Regions from separate parts of the Homo sapiens genome. Here regions 1 and 2 are each linked to region 3. The links are contacts of gene promoters, found by promoter capture Hi-C in blood cells and fetal thymus (Javierre and others, 2016). All regions are on one chromosome and are shown on one strand. Each heading gives the region's core, a stretch centred on a gene start or on the middle of the fragment in contact. The rest is flanking DNA. Distances are from core to core; before and after follow the strand shown.

Evidence for each region. Contacts are between HindIII fragments. The CHiCAGO score rates a contact against its expected background, and 5 or more counts as called.
Region 1: a fragment that was not itself captured here is called in contact with the fragment with the promoter of MYH3 in region 3 in 5 of 17 cell types (naive CD8 T cells, naive CD4 T cells, non-activated CD4 T cells and 2 more); the score reaches 7.3 in naive CD8 T cells.
Region 2: a fragment that was not itself captured here is called in contact with the fragment with the promoter of MYH3 in region 3 in 6 of 17 cell types (naive CD4 T cells, total CD4 T cells, naive CD8 T cells and 3 more); the score reaches 9.0 in naive CD4 T cells.

What each region holds. Positions count from the first base shown.
Region 1 is chr17:10,809,240-10,813,542 of GRCh38, reverse strand. The region is part of intron 3 of TMEM220-AS1 (TMEM220 antisense RNA 1); the gene reads right to left. Among named protein-coding and RNA genes, the nearest start is that of TMEM238L, 7.3 kb to the right of the region's middle. The HindIII fragment of the contact is 6,764 bases long and covers 1-4,303 here.
Region 2 is chr17:10,866,155-10,870,590 of GRCh38, reverse strand. No RefSeq gene overlaps it. Among named protein-coding and RNA genes, the nearest start is that of PIRT, 30 kb to the right of the region's middle. The HindIII fragment of the contact is 1,814 bases long and covers 2,057-3,870 here.
Region 3 is chr17:10,654,730-10,659,048 of GRCh38, reverse strand. MYH3 (myosin heavy chain 3) reads left to right here and starts at 1,740. Exons shown (of 41, transcript NM_002470.4): 1 at 1,740-1,760; 2 at 2,901-2,959; 3 at 3,977-4,188. The coding sequence starts at 3,985. The HindIII fragment of the contact is 3,770 bases long and covers 1-3,014 here.

The DNA.
Region 1 (4,303 bases), core at 358-2,857, 150 kb before region 3:
CTGCCCATCCTTTGAATCTCAGTTCCAACAGCAGAGCCTCAGGGAAGCCTTGGTCAGTGCCCTCTTTATCACATTCTCATAGATCATGGTCCTTCACCTCTGGCTGCTGATCTCTCATCTCTGTCATATTTACATGTTAATTTACATGATTAGTTCATGTCTGCTTTTCCACTGTCTTTCCTCTTCCTCCCTCTCCCCATTTTTTTTTTTTTTTGAGACGGAGACTTGCTCTGTCGCCCAGGCTGGAGTGCAGTGGCGTGATCTCAGCTCACTGCAAGCTCTGTCTCCCGGGTTCACGCCATTCTCCTGCCTCAGCCTCCCAAGTAGCTGGGACTACAGGTGGCTCCCACCACGTCTGGCTAATTTTTTGTATTTTTGAGTGGAGATGGGGTTTCACCATGTTAGCCAGGATGGTCTCGATCTCCTGACCTCATGATCCGCCCGCCTCAGCCTCCCAAAGCCTCTCCCCACTTTAGGCTCCCTGAAGGCAGGCGCCATATTCCTCTTGCTTGCTTATACCTGGCTTTGCACATCTTTAAAGACATCTTGGCAGCTTAGGAGTGCTGGACCCCAGCTCCAGTAGGAGGTCATGGCTAGAGAGGCAGTTAGGCCTGAAGCTCTAGCTCTGAAGCTCTGGGTGGAGCTGCCTGGGCAGGGCCTCTGGAACTTGGCACTGGGCCTGGCTGCGGGAGGAAGGGGGTGACAGCCAAGACCTCTGGCAGCTTAACCCTGGAACTTTGCAAGCAGGCTTTGCACCTGATTGCTCCTGGGGCAATCCAGCGATGCCAGAAAATGGTGACAGAAATATCGGCTTTAACGCCTAACCCAGCTGCTCTCATGGTGGTGATGCCTCAGGATTTCCATCTCAACATCTTGTACAATGTGCCCAGCAATGAACTTGGAGCTGAGTGTCAGCAGAAACAGGCAGCAAAAATAAACTGGTGTGGAAGGGACCCACATTCACAGTAGACCACTGAAGCGCTGGATTTCCCGGCATCATGGGACTTCAAGGTATTATCGTGGAAGCAATTTGCTTTGATGGGAGGTAGCTGGGAGACTACCTCCCCAGAAATGGGAGGAAGGAAGAGAGGAACAACACAGAGGCACTTTGAGTAGAGCTGAGTAGAGTTGGGGAGATTTGGCGAAGCAGCCTCAGCTTTTCCAATAAACTGGGAATGTCCCAGGAATTATAAAGAATGCATCTATTCAGTGAACACCAGGTGCTGGGCTACCAAGGAGAAGGCAGGGATGCTTGTACTGACAGGGATGCCCAGCCTCATGAGGGGGGCAGAAAACTAAACAAACTACTTGGATCAATGTAACGAGGACTAGTATAAAAGTACATAGGAATCCAGTTTTCACTTTAGGATAAGATAACTATTATCAAGAAAACAGAAAACAACCAATTTTGGTGAGGATATAAAGAGACTAGAACCCTCCTAGATCACTGATGGGATTGTAAAATGGTGCAGCCACTGTGGAAAGTGAATGGGATCCTCACATGAGAATGGGTTCCTCCAAAAATTAAACATAGGCTGGGCACAGTGGCTCATGCCTCGAATCCCAGAACTTTGGGAGGCCGAGGCAGGCAGATCACCTGAGGTCAGGAGTTCAAGACCAGCCTGGGTAACATGGTGAAACCCTGTCTCTACTAAAAATACAAAAATTAGCTGGGCCTGGTGGCGCACACCTGTGATCCCAGCTACTCAGGAGGCTGAGGCAGGAGAATCACTTGAACCCAGGCGGCAGAAGTTGCAGTGAACCGAGATAGCACCAGTGCACTCCAGCCTGGGAAACAGAGCGAGAGTCCGCCTCAAAAAAAAAAAAATTAAACATAGAATTACCATATGATCCAGCAATTCTACTTCTGGGTATATACACTCATACCAAAAGGAATCAAAAGCTCGGATTCAAATGGATATTTTTATACCCATGGTTATAGCAGCATCATTCACAATAGCCAAGAGGTGGAAGCAAACCTAGTGTCCACCCACAGGTGAATGGATACATAAAATGTGGTAAATACACGCAATGGAGCGTTATTTAGCCTTAAAAGGTAGAACATTCTGACACATGCTACAACACGGATGAACCTTGAGGACTCTATGCTAAGAAAAAGAAGCCAGTTACCAAAGGACAAGTATAGTATGATTTCAATTACATGAGGTAGGTAGAGTAGTCAAACTCACAGAGACAGAAAGCAGAATGGTGGTTGCAGGGGCTTATGGGAAGGCAGTCTGGGGGGTTAGTATGTAATGTGCACAGAGCTTCATTTCAGGACAATAAAAATGTTCTGGAGGTGGATGGTGGCGATAGTGGCACAATGCGAATGCACTTAATGCCACTGAACTGTACACTTAAAAATGGTTAAGGCAGCAAATTGTTAGTCACATACATTTTCTACAATGAAAATAAATAATTTTTAATTAAAAACTTAATTAAAGGCCAGGCACAGTGGCTCATGCCTTAATCTCAGCACTTTAGGAGGCCGAGGCAGGTGACTCAACTGAAGTCGGGTGTTTGAGACCAGCCTGACCCATATGGTGAAATCCTATCTCTACTAAAAATACAAAAATTAGCCAGGTGTGGTGGCGTGTGCCTGTAATCCCAGCTACTTGGGAGGCTGAGGCAGGAGAATCTCTTGAACCCAAGAGGCGGAGGTTGCAGTGAGCCAAGATCGTGCTACTGCACTCCAGCCTGGCCTGGGCAGTAGAGTGAGACTCCGTCTCAAAAAAAAAAATTAATTAAATGGGAATAAGAAAGAAACTAACTTGATTATCTGAGGATTTGGGAAACAACTGACACAAGGGTGGGGAAGAGGAAAGGGAGAAGAGTTGGTATTTGTATTTAATGCCCATGAGACGACAAGACCAGGTTCTAATTGCAGCTCTGTTACCTACTTGCTGGCTGAACCTAGGCAACTCTCTTAACGGCTTTCAACTCTGGAAGAGGAACAGGGCTGCAGGGAGGACAAGGAGATGCTGGATGTAGATCGATGTCCATTGTACATAAAGTGCAACACAAATGCATGGAAATACTATTATTATCTGCTGAAAGGGGGCAAGGTTACCAACCTGCGGAGAAGGAAGGTGATGAGCAGCAAGGAGGTGGTAATGGGAGGATGCTTTTGAGATGTGGACAGGAGTCATGAAGGTTTAGGTCAGCCCAGTAGGGAATAAGATAGGAAAACCAGAAAAGAGGGCTAGAGTTTCCTGAGCTGGAGGGAGGGTCCTCGAGCATGGATTACAGAGGTCCAGGCAGCGCACTTTGGGGAATTCTTATAAGACCCTGTGGGTAGCCTAACAGAGGAGGAATGAAGAGCTCTGAAAATTGTCAGGGGTCACTAAGATAAGAGCGAATACATTTCTGAAAATACTGACCCTAAGTCCCACACTGAGAAAAAGGAGGAGTAAATGAAGATTGATTGGGGAGCATTGATCAGGGTCAACATTTTTCCAGATTCTGGCACTATATCCCTGGCAGTATGGGAAGGGATTTCAGTTGGCAGACAGGCTCACATTAAAAGGCATAGCCATTTCAATTTTCATTCAATCTTTCCTATGACTTCCAGGACAAAGCCACTGGTTGGTGCTATTATGTTTTATGTACCTCTCTAAACTTTGTGAGTCTTGGGTCTTTATTTGAGAAAGAGAGCAATTTCAGTAGGCAACAATGTCTAGTTTGGAAATCAGCAAATCTGACCTGCTGCCTGGTTTTGTAAATAAAGGTGTTTTGTTTTGTTTGGTTTGGTTTGGTTTGGTTGGAGATGGAGTCTCCGTCTGTCATCCAGGCTGTAGTGCAGTGGTGCGATCTCGGCTTATTGCAACCTCCACCTCCCTGGTTCAAGCGATTCTCCTGCCTCAGCCTCTTGAATAGCTGGGACTACAGGCATGGGCAACCACACCCAGTTATTTTTTGTATTTTTAGTAGACAAGGTTTCACCATGTTGGACAGGCTGGTTTCAAACTCCTGACCTCAGGTGATCTGCCCACCTCAGCCTCCCAAAGTGCTGGGATTACAGCAAAGTTTTATTGGAATGCAGCCACACTCATTCATTTACATATCATCTCTGGCTCTTTCACCATGCAGTAGTCTGTTTTCATACTGCTATAAAGACATACCCAAGCCTGGGTAATTTATAAAGGAAAGAGGTTTAATTGACTCACAGCTCAGCATGGCTGGGGAGGCCTCAGGAAACTTACAATCATGGTGGAAGGGAAAGGGGAAGCAAGGCACCTTCTTCACAAGGTGGCAGGAAGGAGAAGTGCCCAGCAAAGGGGGATGAGCCCCTTAGATCTCGTGA
Region 2 (4,436 bases), core at 1,714-4,213, 210 kb before region 3:
GTTCTTCTTCTGAAATGCCAGATGGTTGTCACCAAGAGGAAAGGCCAGCAGACTATCTTCCAAGATGTCTCATAAACTAATATGGCTTACTTTGGGGAATTTTCCATCATCCTAGATCTGCTACTTGGATGCTACAGAATCTGAAAAGGGATCCATCTCTCAATAGAGACACTTTAACCAAGCACAGAACACTGGCAGATAAAACCAGAATGCCAATGCCTTCATTTACTGTGAGAAATTCCTGGCACGGAGACCTAAAAACTCAGATTCCATAGAATGAGCCCAAAGTCTCCCCACAGACAGACTCCAAGGAGAAGCCAAATCATAGACTGAAAGTTTCTGGTGAGCCTGAAGTCAGAAAGGGGGAAGTTCAATAATCCAGTGCTTCAGGCATCCAGCTGAGATACCTCAGTGTTTTCATTCCGCAAGGAGGACGGTCTTGCCAGTGAGACCAGAGTCGCTTAAAATATGTGGGCTCCACCTCTGCCCTGACAAAACCAGAACTCTTCCAGTCACTGGTTAAGGGGAATACCCTAGGATGGATCCTGCTGATATTTGCCTCTGGTACTCACATTTCTTTCTTATTCCAGAGCTGACAAGTCCTTCCTCTGATGGACACATCCTTTCTTGATGGAAATACATTCAATCTGGTGGCTGTGGGGGCTTGTCTACCTGAGAGCTGTGCCTTCTCCTTCAGCTGAGTTCACATATCTGTACTGTGATGCACTGTGCCTAATTCCCCAAAAGGCAATCTTGCTTCCTTCATTTCCAAATCTGGGAAGGCAAATGTCTACTGTGCCCAGAGAAGGAAAGGTAGCTGCATCCTTTTCTGTGAATACCCTTCTATACGTGAATATTAGATATTTTAAGGAAAGAAGCAGTTTTAATTAAGATGTATATAAACATTATATGCAGAGAACCCAAAAAAGAAGAAATGGATATAAGTTTCCAAGTGCTTAATGAGGGCTTGGTGCCGTGCTAGGGGCATTTAATAAGCACAGCAATTCAAGGAAATAGTTATTAGTGCCACCATTTTACAGTTAGGAGAACTGAAACTCAGAAAGATTAAGTGACTGCTAGTTTCAGGAGAACTGGAATTTCAACACTGGCCTGTCTGACTCTGAGACTCTGCTAGGAACCCGTGCACCAAGAAAAGTGCTCATATCTGTGAAGATGCATTGTGAGCTGCCAATGAGGTATGGTAACTGTCTAAAACTGAAAGGAAAGCTGAGGAGCCATATTTTATAATCAGCAGACTGCTTTTTCAGCTAAAACATGAGTAACCTTCTAGAATGTTTTGCAAAGGCTTTGATACCTGCACTGGTTGCATTTCCATAATGATACCACTTAAATCCAACTGGACTATCTTCCTGCCACAAACCAACATAGGAACTCCTTCACTCATTCCATTCCAATTCCTAGGGTGGTGAGGTCAAAGGCAGCCAAGCTCCTTCAAACATAAAGTAAAATAAGAAGTTCTCATCAGAAGCCCATGGCTGTGGTTACAGATGTGCAGAGCTCACCAACACTTTAAAGAAATGTAAGTTGCTCATTTACAATAACAAAGACTTGGAACCAACCCAAATGCCCATCAGTGATAGACTGGATAAAGAAAATGTGTCACATATACACCGTGGAATACTATGCAGCCATGAAAAAGAATGAGTTCATGTCCTTCGTAGGGACATGGATGAAGCTGGAAACCATCATTCTCAGCAAAGTAACACAGAACAGAAAACCAAACACCACATGTTCTCACTAAGAAGTGGGAGTTGAACAATGAGAACACATGGACACAGAGAGGGGAACATCACACACCAGGGCCTGTCAGGGGGTGGGGGACAAGAGGAGAGGGAGCATTAGGACAAATACCTAATCCATGCAGGGCTTAAAGCCTAGATGACGGGTTGATAGGTGCAGCAAACCACCATGGCGTATGTATGCCTATGTAACAAACCTGCACATTCTTCACATGTATCCCAGAACTTAAAATAAAACTTTAAAAAAAAAAGACAAAAAAAGGAATATAAGTTGCTCAAAGGGATGGGGAAAAGCTTGCTGTAGCCATGATCTGGATGCAGTCTATTGGGAATTCTTCAATACCTCCCATCATTCAGATAGGCCCTCGAGATCACTGTCCTGGCGGCTCCTACTTAGCAACCCCCAAATATCCTCTCCTTGGCTTCCTGGCCCTTGTCATTGTAAGCTGTGAGAAAAGAAAGACAAAAAGAAGACCTTGAATGGCTCTCGCTCCTGGAGATAACAAGACCTGAAATATGGGGCAGAAGGAGCATGAGGAGATTATGGATTGTCATCCCGGTGGAATGCTAGTTTCAGATTTCTAGCACCAGGTCACTTCTGCAGCTGAGACATAGCATGACCAAGACAGCATGGGTCCTCACTCAAGAGCATTCTTGGTATATTCAGTTAATGGTTCCAGGCTGGAAGGAAAGGAAAAGGAAAGTAAGGAAAGCAAAAAAAAAAAAAAAGAAAGGCATTTATAATGTTTTTTTAAAAGCATATTTGATTTCATCTAGTTCCCCAAACATTTCATCTAGTTCCGCATCATTATCTGCATTTTATGGAGGAGGAAGCTGAAGTACAGAGAAGTTAAACACACACACTCAAGTCATAGACTTGGTAGGATCGAACTCAGGCCTAAAGGAGTGGAAAGTCCATGCTATTTTTCATTAAAGCATGGGTTCAGAAGATCACTAGTTGAGCATCAAAGTTTCCTAAGCCAAAATGAGTATTTTTAAAGAATGCTCTACATTGGTATTTGTTGTTTTCTCCCCATATGGAGTAGGTAGAATAATGCTCCCTACCCACCAAAATGTCCATGCCCTCATCCCTGGGCCCTGTGAATTGTTAGGTTATATGAAAAAGGGGAATTGAGGTTGCTGTATTAGTCCATTTTCATGCTGCTGATAAAGACACATCTGAGAATGGGAAGAAAAAGAGATTTAATGGACTCACAGTTGCACATGGCTGGGGAAGCATCACAATCATGGCAGAAGGCAAGGAGGAGCAAGTCACCTCTTACATGGATGGCAGCAGGCAAAGAGAGAGCTTGTTCAGGGAAAATCCCCCTTGTAAAACCATCAGATCTCATGAGACTTATTCACTATCGTGAGAACACATGGAAAAGATCTGACCCCATGATTCAATTACCTCCCACCAGGTCCCCTCCACCACACATGGGAATTCAAGATGAGATGTGGGTGGGAACATGACCAAACAATAACCTTGAGATGAGAAAATCATCCTGATTTATCCAAGTGGGCTCAGTGTATTCACATGGGGCAGGGGAGTAAAAAGAGTGAGCTGGAGAAAGCTGTGACACTGGAAGTAGAGTCAGAAAGATGCCACATAATTCACTTTGAAGGTGGAAGAAGGGGCCACAAGGCAAGGAATGTGGGCAGCCTCCAGAAGCTGTAAATGCACAAGGAAATGGATTCTTCCTGAGAGCCACCAAAGGAATTGGCCCTGATGATGACTTCATTTCATCCCAGTGAGACCAATGTTGAACTTCCAAACTGAAGAATGGCAAGATAATAAATTGACATTGTTTTATGCCACCCATGTGTGGAAGCCACATTATTATACAACAAGGTCCCAGCTTTCATAGTGGTAGGCCACGAATCTAAGAAGAAGACACGGTTTGAGTCCCAGCCTGACCATGCCTGGCTGACGCAGCATGATCCATCCATTTCACTCATGCTGGGAAGATCTTGCCAGGAAAACTTGAAATAATTGAGGCTGTCACCTAAAACCCCATCTTAGTTAGAAATGGTTTGGTTGTGTGGAACATAGCTCTACTCATCAAGGCTCACGTGAAAAATGAAAGCTATTTAGAAGCAGAGCGAAGCTTCGTGGAACCAGAAATTTAGTAGATGGCATTCTCGCTCTCTTCCTTCTTTTCTCTCTCACTCTCTCTCCTCTCCTACTCTTATCTCTTCTTTTCTATAAATATCTTATTTATTGTTCTCTTCTTGCAGACATGACTTTGCTTACATCTCTGTGTGTACAAGGCTTCAACAAGGCCATCCCAAGATGATGGCTTCTGTTCCATGATGTCCCAACATTCCAGCCTTGTTCCCCCCACAACCAACTGTGTCAGTCTTCCCATCCCTGATGGAAAGGTCTGAACACATTGAAACTGATAAGCTCAGCTCTAGTCTGATGTTCACTCTTAACTCTATCAGTTATGGTCAGGATGGAGGAGCCAGGAGCTGGGGCTTTTGCTATAAAAATCTGTCTCATTGGGTGCTGTGGCTTAGGCAGGCCCTTTAAGATGGTGTCAGAGAGCAGAGAGGAAATTACTGGCATCATCAGAACATCTCTGCATCCTAGGGCTGGCCTCAGAAACAGAAAGCCATCACTTCTGCTGGCTGAACTGCCCTCCTCCCTCCTTTCTGCACAGGCCAAGTCAAGCC
Region 3 (4,319 bases), core at 491-2,990:
CCCACAGCCTGCCCTGCATACACCACTGCTGGAGATGTAGCCAGGACAGCTTGCCCTGTCCCCTGACCCCACGGACCTTGTTAACACCGCTGCTCCCCTCGGTGATATTTACCTGTCCGTGGCTGTCCTGACCAATACTCCCAAGGAGACAGTGCATCACTGGGCCAACAGGGCAGAGCCCCAGGGGACCACTCCCTTTACGACATGGACGGACACTTTAGGAGTGACGGTTACCCTCTCCTTGGATGAGGAGGGGCTCCAAGGATGGACATGTCAGTCTCACCTGGAGGGAGAGGGGCAGTGGGTGGGGGCAACGCTCAGTGGCTGGTGGACAGGCAAGGGGTGAGTGAGCCCTGCCCAACTGACTCCATTGGCGGCCACTGGCCTTGCCTGGCATTCACGGAACAGGCGCTTCATAAACTTGTTGCTTCAATGTGAAATCACCTCAATTTTGTAAATGCGTCTGTAGCATCCACAGGACTCATCATCTAGAATTCAAACCCTTAAGGGTAAAGGCTGCGTCTTCTGTTTCCTCTGCGTCTTCTCGAAGCACTGTGTGTAAGGGCCAGAGCACAGAGGATGTTTCATACACGTGCCTTTGCCCTGAGACCGCAGCCCTGCCTCCCCGGTCCCACGCAGACCTCATGGAGTGGCCTCCACTTCGGGGCTTGGTACTGCTGTGTACGGAAGGGGCGGTTTCTATGGGAAACATGGACAAACAGTTCTATTTGGAATAAGCAACCACAGGGTGCCCACCCAGCCATCCTCCCAAAGATTTGTCAAGAAAAAAAAAGTAGAACGAGAATGGGCAAAAGCGTCCGACATACTTTACTCTTCTCTTGAGGCTTTATTTTTCCACTCCTGATTTAGAGATGACCACATTTGTTAGACAGCCCCCCCTTGTCCGCCCTTTCTCTGCAGGCCACCACCGTTCCCCCTACCCCATCCCAGCCAGCAGCTGGTCTTTCCTAATTGGTAATCTGTCTTAATAGCCACAGGTCCTCAGGCAGCTGTCGCCGGGAATACGAGCTGGCAGCATAGATCCACGTCACTAACTTAACTGGCTGGTCCTATTAGAGCTTAAGAAAGAATTAAGTTAATAATGATACTAATGAGACAGAACGTTGCATAGGAGAAAATAAGAGAAAGAAGGAGAGGAGTAGAAGGAGGAGAAGGGAGAAGAGGGCAAGGGGGGAGGGGAATTATTGCTATTAATTATTATTATTATTAATTATTCCTGGCACAGGTTTTGCAATCACAACCCAAGGTTGTGATAAAATCTTGCTCAAAATTCAAAAAGGATTTCAACTTTTCACTCTCAGTCTTATTCACTTTTCCATATGATGAGATTTCTAAGTAAGCCACCCGACTTCAGTCCTTGGTGCCCAATAGCTAGGGGCTCACGCCGCGTTCAGGGTGTGATGAGCGCCTGAGAACGGAGGTGGCTGCCCCCGCAACTCCTCCTGGAGTGAGGCCATCCCATCCCATCAGGGGAGGGAGCACCGGCCCCAAGTTCAGAGAAAGGCATCCCAAGCTCCTGACATTCTGCGGTCGGAAAATGGTGATGGATCCTGCTCATTTCTAATTATACCTTTCCCTTGGCAACGACAAAGATACGTGTGGAAGAAGCTGGTTCTCGGCTTGGGGGGGCCACTCATCCTCTTGCCAAATATAGAGAAGGAATGAGCCGCGGGGGTTACCAATGGCCTATAAAAGCCCCGGGGAGCAGCCAGCCCTCTGTGGCTCGCTTGTGGGCGGAGGTAAGTCACAGGCTCCTCTTCTAGGTCTCAGCTGCTTGGAGCACACCCACCCGGTGAGCACATCCACACCCCGTGCGTGGTTCCCTGGCCCTGCCTGGCTCTGCTGAGGTGGCGCCTCATGCCTTTCTGAGTTTTCTTAGGATAAGCAAGGTGTAGAGAGCGAGGTTCCCTGGGCCCAAACACCCAGCACCCTCTGGCTCCAGCACCTCCCCCAAGCAGGAGCCCTGCAGGTTCTCTCTCCTCCACACACTCTCCCCTGTCCTCCTCTCCAAGTGTCCTCTTGGGCAGGATCCTTTTGGATGCCCCGTGAGCCCAGCTGCCATGGCTTGACCTTCTCCCATTGCCTCTGTGACCCATGAAGGGTCAACAGGACTGGGGACCTCACTCTGCCCTCACCTTCCCCACCTGGGCTGTACATCTGCCAGGTGTCTTGTCCTCTCAAGACCACACTGGCTGTGGGCATTGCGTGTAAATTAATCTCAGAGATATTGCCTGTTCACAGACAAGGAGACCTGCCCCTGCCCTCGAACTGTTGACTTTAAGCAGGGATGCGGTCCCTGCTGTCCGATTCTAAATGGGAGTGAGGAAGACTGAAGAAGGTGCCAGTGCAGGCTGAGAGAAACCAGATTTCTGCACAGCTGAGGGTTTTTCCTCCCTGCCTGGCTTCCTGTGGGTCACGTCCCATCTGCTCTTCCATCTTCCAGCCTGCCTCTTTAAAGTATTAGTCTTTTTTTTTTTTTTTTTTTTTTTTGAGACAGAATTTTGCTCTTGTCGCCCAGGCTGGAGTGCAATGGCACAATCTCGGCTCACTGCAACCTCTGTCTCCCAGGTTCAAATGATTCTCCTGCCTAAGCCTCCAGAGTAGCTGGGATCACAGGCATCTGCCGCCACGCCCAGCAATTTTTTAAATTTATTTTTTATTTTTAGTAGAGAAGGGGTTTCACTATGTTGGCCAGACTGGTCTCAAACTCCTGACCTCAGGCCATCTTTCCGCCTCGGCTTCCCAAAGTGCTGGGATTACAGGCGTGAGCCATGGCGCCTGGCCCCTTTATCCTTTTTAGTTAACTCGTCAGAAGCCGATTCTACATGGACGCAGCCACCCCAAGTGCCGCTAAGTTGTGTATGTGCATATTCTTCCAGGTCTGGGATCTCCTGGCTGTTGCTGTCTTCTGCTCTCATCCTGCAGGTGGGACTCTCAGGTGAGAAGTTGGGCCCTGTCCCTCGGCTGTTGGAGATCTCCAGGCAATCCAAGCTTGCCAGTTCCTTTCTCCCTCCTCCCACCGGCCATAAGGGCACAGAGGGACAGGGGAACTAGCACATTTAGACAAGGACAGGTCGTGGCCGGGTGCAATGGCTCACACCTGTAATCCCAGCACTTTGAGAGGCCGAGGTGGGCAGATCATGAGGTCAGGAGTTCAAGACCAGCCTGACCAACATGGTGAAACCCCGTCTCTACTAAAAATAGAAAAATTAGCAGGACGTGGTGGCAAGTGCCTGTAATCCCAGCTACTCAAGAGACTGAGGCAGGAGTATCGCTTGAACCTGGGAGGCAGAAGTTGCAGTTAGTGGAGATCGTGCCACTGCACTCCAGTCTGTGACAGAGTGAGACTCCATCTCAAAAAAAAAAGGCAAGGACAGGTCAGGCGGGAGAGGAGGTGGCATTTGGGGGACTGTCAAACAGATGCTGATGTCAGATGCTTGATTTTGTTCTTAGCAACCCAAGGAAGCAAAAGGCAGGTTCCCGCATACGAGCGTGTAGCCACCTTGATTGAAATGGTTCAAAAATATCTTTGCTGTTTGCCATTAGCACACTCTCTTTGAAGATGGCGTTTATTTTTTAAGGGTGTTTATTTTTAAACGTTCCCTCAGCAACACCTGGTTGTCACAGAAGCGGAAAAGGCGGTCCCAAGAGTGGTGCTCACTTCCAAACCCCTTATCGCCAGTTCAAGCCTCAGATGCTTGAGGAGCTTGGGTTAAATAGGCTGTAAGACTGTCGCACAAGAAGCCCCTCAATAAATATGCACCCGTGTGATTTCCCAGCACTGAAGCCCTTTGGGTGGAGCTTCTCAAGGCATGAGGACAGCCTGGTTCCTGGGGCCCTGACTCTGAGGGCTCCTGCGGCTGAAGGAGGGCAGGGTGGAGGCTGAAACAGGCCTGGAGCTGCTGGGTGCCTGGCAAGGGGGCTGCTGAGCTCACCGGGTGGGTTTGCCTTCCAGCTGACACCATGAGTAGTGACACTGAAATGGAAGTGTTCGGCATAGCTGCTCCTTTCCTCCGGAAGTCAGAAAAGGAGAGGATCGAGGCTCAGAACCAGCCCTTTGATGCCAAGACGTATTGCTTCGTGGTGGACTCAAAGGAAGAATATGCCAAGGGGAAAATCAAGAGTTCTCAGGATGGGAAGGTCACTGTGGAAACTGAGGACAACAGGGTAAGGCTCTGTACCCTCCACAGGCTGCTGGCCCTCCACCTGGTCCTTGTGCTTGCCTGGGGTATGCATCTGCCCAACCCCAGCCACTTCCAGATGTGGTTCCAGCACTGGAATGCCGCATACAATGTAGC